Linked DNA regions of Homo sapiens: region 2 is linked to region 1. The links are contacts of gene promoters, found by promoter capture Hi-C in human tissues and cell types (Jung and others, 2019). All regions are on one chromosome and are shown on one strand. Each heading gives the region's core, a stretch centred on a gene start or on the middle of the fragment in contact. The rest is flanking DNA. Distances are from core to core; before and after follow the strand shown.

The links. The method cuts DNA at HindIII sites, captures the fragments that hold promoters and counts their contacts. A contact is called where the count stands out against the background at its distance.
Region 2: a contact is called between a fragment that was not itself captured here and the fragment with the promoter of MGAT3 in region 1, in 1 of the 25 tissues and cell types used here (hippocampus).

The regions. Positions count from the first base shown.
Region 1 is chr22:39,455,722-39,458,307 of GRCh38, reverse strand. MGAT3 (beta-1,4-mannosyl-glycoprotein 4-beta-N-acetylglucosaminyltransferase) reads right to left here and starts at 1,296. Exons shown (of 2, transcript NM_002409.5): 1 at 751-1,296. RefSeq lists silencers at 171-300, 311-580, 1,311-1,370. The HindIII fragment of the contact is 12,980 bases long and covers 1-2,586 here.
Region 2 is chr22:39,135,448-39,138,033 of GRCh38, reverse strand. All of the region lies in intron 4 of CBX7 (chromobox 7), which reads left to right. Among named protein-coding and RNA genes, the nearest start is that of CBX7, 16 kb to the left of the region's middle. RefSeq lists an enhancer at 1,955-2,586. The HindIII fragment of the contact is 3,206 bases long and covers 1-2,586 here.

The DNA of each region.
Region 1 (2,586 bases), core at 47-2,546:
GGCCGCGCGGCATCCCTTCCTGCTGCACCCCAGCTCAGGAACCCCACCATACACACACCCAGGCGCACTCCCCTCCCCACTCCCGGTTCCAGAACTCACTATTTGCAGATATTTATAGCGCCCTCCCTCAGCCAGGTTCCCTCCCCCGCCCTGGGCAGAGCAATGCAAGGAGCCGGGGGCCCCCACCCCGGTAAATGGCCGGGGGCCCTCTCCACATTTGCCTCTGCCTGGTCCCCAGGGGTAGCTACGGCCGCAGCCCCCGCACCCGCCCAGCCCCCGACTGCGCTTGGGCCTCGGCTGCCGCCGCCGCAGTCTGGGGTCGGGGGTGGGGAAGGCGGGCGCGGAGGCCTCCCACCCCAGCCCCGCGCCGCGCCGGAGGTTGTGGGGGAGCCGCGCCGGAGGCTGGGGGGTGCCGCGCACAAAGCACGGCTCGAGCCCCGCGCCTCGGGGACGTCCCCCGCCCGGCCGTGGGAGGGGGTCGGGCGCTGAGGCTCTGCCCTCCGGGGACCGGGGAGCTCGGAGGAGCGGCGGGTAGGGGGAGGGGGCCCGCGCCGAGCGGCTTCCCCGGCATCCCGCCCCCACCGCGGCCTCCGGGCCCCCAGCCCCAGTGCGCCCGCGCCCGCCCCCTAAGGTCACGCTCGGGGAGTGGGCCGCGGAGCCGGGCGGGGGGCGCCAAGCGCAGCGCGGGAGGGCGGGCAGCGCGGGGATAGAGGGGCCGCGGCGCCCCCCAGGACGCCGGGGTCAACTCACCCATCGCCCGCTGGGTCTCAGCAACGGCGGCAGCAGCGGCGGCGGCGGCTCCGCGGCCCCCGGGGTCCCCGGCGGGGAGATGCTGGCGTCCGCCGCAGCCTCTCGCCCCATCCCGGGCTCCGGCGGCAGCGGCTGCGGCGGGCGCCCGGCATCGCAGGCAGCGCGGCCCCGGCCCGGCCCCGATCCCCTCCCCCCACCCCCACTTCCACCCCGTCCCGGGGACCCGGCGCGGCCGCTCGGCTGCACCCCGGGGCGGCGGCGGGGGCCCGGCGAGCGGACGGGCGCGGGGGAGGGACCGCGGCGGGCGCGCGGGGGGCGCGGAGGCGAGGCCGAGCGCGGCGCGCAGGGGTGCCCGCTCCCGCCGGCTCAAGCGGCTCCGGCCCCCACCCCGCCCCCTCCGCAACCCCCTCCCCTCCCCCGCCAGCCGGGCTCCGCCGCCGCGCCGGGCCGGGGGCGCCTCGCACCGCAGACTCCGGCCGCCGCCGCCCCGCGCCGCCCGCGCGTGCTGGATCGAGTGTGTGCGTGTGCGAGCGAGTGTGTGTGAGTGCGAGTGTGCGCGCGCCCCTCCTGTGACCGTGCGTGCGCCGGCCCACGGCCCGGGGCGGCCTGCGCGGGGGCGTGTGCGGGGAATGCGGGTAGTTCGGAGTGCGGGCCTGGTGTGCGTGCGGGGCAGCAAGTCCCGTTCTGTGTATGCGTGGACGGGTGCGTTCCGCAGCGTGCCCGGGTCGGTGTGACTCCGTGTGCCCGAGTCTGTGCCTGTGTGTGCATGGACGTGCAGATCCGTGTTGCGGTGTGTGCGTGGATGCGCCTGTGCCCGCGTGAACCTGGGCCGGGATTTCGCATAGGCATCTGTGACCATGTGCAGAGGCCTGGGCCTGTGATGTGTGCACGGTGCCGGGCCTGTTACGGTGTCTGCAGAGTCTGTGTGTCTGCTTGGGGCGTGGGTGACCGCTGTACACCGGCCTGTGTCCTTCCGTCCGACCCCCTCCGTCCCTCACATGCCCGAAGCCACCTGCGCACTCCTGGGGTAACTGGGGGGGCCTCCCCTCCCCCGCCCCCCTCACCCGGCCACCCTAGGCCCGGTCGGCCCTGCCAACCCTCTTGAGCCTACTCTCCTGCCACTTGCCCACCAGCGGTTCTCCGAGGGCCCACCGTGTCGTGCCCTGGCTCCTCGTGGCCTTGCTCTAGGCCATTCCTCTCAGGGCTCAGAGGCGTCCCCCACGTGTTTCCCGCCTTTCAAGTGGTTCCGTTCTGGGGCCTACAGAGCAGCCACTTCCTCCCGCGGTGCGAGGCACAAGGCATTGTGGGTACGCAGCAGACATCTCTGCGCCGCCATCGTCGAAGGTGCAGGGATGCGCTACCTATTCTATATCCCAGCGAATGTGCTCCAGAATAGTCCCAGAGGCCTTTGCTGAACCATCCGGGCTGCCTAGGGCTGGTCTACCTGCTCCAGGTGCCTCCGTGCCCAGCTTCATCCATCCTTGCTGAGGAGGCAGAGTGATCCTACTCCAACATTCACTTGAGCAGGTCACTCTCCTGCCTGCACCTTCAATGGCTCCCACTTGCCCTCAGCTTAAGTTCAGTGCCTGGGCGGGGCACAGGGAGCCCCTGGTGACCTAGTCTTGCCCCCTTCTTCAACGTCACCCTCACTGCTCTTTTCTTCCTGGAGGCTCTCTCTAAGCAAGGGTGGGCAAACCATTTGCTTTAAGAGATTGATTGTAAATCTTTTAGGCTTTGCCAGCCATATGGTCTCTGTCCCAACTACTCAACTCTGCCATCGTAGCATAAAATCAACCATAGACAATACGTAAAAGAATGAGCCTGGCGGTGTTCCAA
Region 2 (2,586 bases), core at 46-2,545, 320 kb after region 1:
AAATTTTTGTATTTTTAGCAGAGACGGGGTTTCACCGTGTTGGCCAGGATGGTCTCGATCTCCTGACCTCATGATCCGCCCGGCTTGGCCTCCCAAAGTGCTGGGATTACAGGCGTGAGCCACCGCGCCCAGCCAGAAACAGAATCTTAGAATTGTAGAACTACAGCCTTGGAATGTCAGACCCCTAGAAGTGTGTCATTTTTGAGTGGGCCTCCTGTTCCAGCCTTCAGTCAGTTGGGGACCCAAGTCTCTGCAGCATCCCGGAGTACCCACGTCGTAGGTCTTGGGGGCCTTTCCTGACCTCAGTGCTTTGCAGTGACAGGGACGTGGATCTTGGAGCAGTGCAGTCACAGGTTGAGTCTCCCTGATCCAAAATCCAAAATGCTGCCATGTGCGGTGGCTCATGCCTGTAATCCCAACACTTTGGGAGGCCGAGGCGGGTGGATCACCTGAGGTCAGAAGTTCAAAACCAGCCTGGCCAACATGGTGAAAACCTGTCTCTACTAAAAATACAAAAATTAGCTGGGGATGGTGGCGGGCACCTGTAATCCCAGCTACTCAGGGGGCTGAGACAGGACAGTCACTTGAGCCCGGGAGGTGGAGGTTGCAGGGAGCCAAGATCATACCATTGCACTCCAGCCTGGGTGATAAGAGTGAAACTCCGTCCCCTGCCGCCCCGCCCCCCCACCCCAACAAGAAAAACAAGATCTGAAATGCTCCAGAATCCAAAACATTTTGAGCACCAAAATGATGTTCAAAGGAAGTGTTCATTGGAGCAGTCTAAATTTCAGATTTTTGGATTGGGGATGCTCAGCTAGTATATATAATGCAAATATTCCAAAATCCTAAAAAAATTCGAAGTCTGAAACACTTCTGGTTCCAAGCATTTCGGATAAGGAATGCTCTGCCTGTGTGTGGTTGTAGGTAAGCCTCTTCACCTGTAAAATGGGTATGAAGAGAATACCCGCTCTCCTTAATGTAATAAGACCCACCAGGCAGGATATTGGAAGCCAGAAAGTCAGGATTCTTGGTCCACTTGTATGTGGTCCATGTCAAGCGTCCTTGGCCACTCCTGATTAAAACCCATGGAGGCTTTCGCCAGAGGGGGTGGGCCTCCCTTCATGCAGTGGGCATGTTCCATTGGGTTTGGCATGAATTGAGCCTAGGAAGGGAAGTAACATCTCCTGGACGTCTGTGTGCCAGGCTGTCTGCCCAGTGTGCCTCACAGATGAATATACTCCATCCACATACTAAGCCTACAGGGCAGGTGTGTTCGTTATCTCTTCCCCTCTAACATGGCAACTCAAAGCAATAAACATTGATTATTTCACATGGCTTCTGGGGGTCAGGAATTTGGAATTGTGCTAGCTGGTTCTTCAGTGGTTCTAGTCTGGGCTGCAGTCAAGGTGTTGGCTGGGCTGCAGTCATCTGCAGGCTCGACCAGGGCTGCGGGATCTGCCTCCGAGGGGGCTGCTCACGTGCCATCGAGTCAGGGCTGGACGTTGACAGGGACTGGTCCTCACCATGTGGACCTCTCCAGAGGGTTGCTTGAGTGTCCTTACAGTGCAGCCACCAGCTTCCCAGAGTGGGTGACCTGAGAGAGAGAGCAGGGAAGAAGCCACAGTGTCTTTTATGCCCTAGCCTGGGAAGTCACACAACACAGCACTGGGTGTGGGAATGGACGGCGCATAGGTGTGAATTCCAGGAGGTGGGTGTGGTTGGGGCCCTCCTCGGAGGCTGGCTCCTACAGTCTCTTCATTGTTTCGCTGAGAAAGAAACTGAGGCCCAGGGAGGCCGGTAGCTTACCCAGGACCTGACTGTTGGCACCCGCGTCCCTTTAGTAGCTGTAGTTCTCTCGTGATGAGGTTGCCAAGGACGTAGAAGACCCTGCCTTGCAGAATGGTAGAATGTACTGGGCTTCTTTTTTTTTTTTTTTTTTTTTCCCAGACAGAGTCTCGCTCTGTCGCCCAGGCTGGAATACAGTGGTGCGATCTCTGCTCACTGCAAGCTCTGCCTTCTGGGTTCAAATGATTGTCCTGCCTTAGCCTCCCAAGTAGCTGGGATTACAGGCACCTGCCACCACACCCGGCTAATTTTTGTATTTTTAGTAGAGATGGGGTTTCGCCATGTTGGCCAGGCTGGCCTTGAACTCCTGACCTCTGGTGATCCAGCTGCCTCGGCCTCCTAAAGTGTTGGGATTACAGGCGTGAGCCACTGTGCCTGGCCCATACTAGGCTTCTGATGGCCTGTGAGCCCGCTGGGAGGAGTGGGTTTTGAGTCAGCTGCCTACCAGATGTGCCTCCCAGGCACTGCAGTATTTTCCCAGTCCCCTCCCAGTTTAGCCCTCCTCCCATCACTGCAGCAGCCGGCACCTGGGGACATGTGATGCCGTTAACAGGCACGACTGTGAGTGGGACCTGCGTGTGTCATCCCTTCCCTCAGCTTGGAGGTGTTTGACCTCACAGGTCCCATCTGATGGCTGCACTATCTTCCTGGGAGCTCCTGACCTCTGGTAGCAGGTGGCAGGAGAAGGTACTGTCCCAGTGATCCAGAGTCTCCCAACATCTTGGCACCATGAATCTTTTG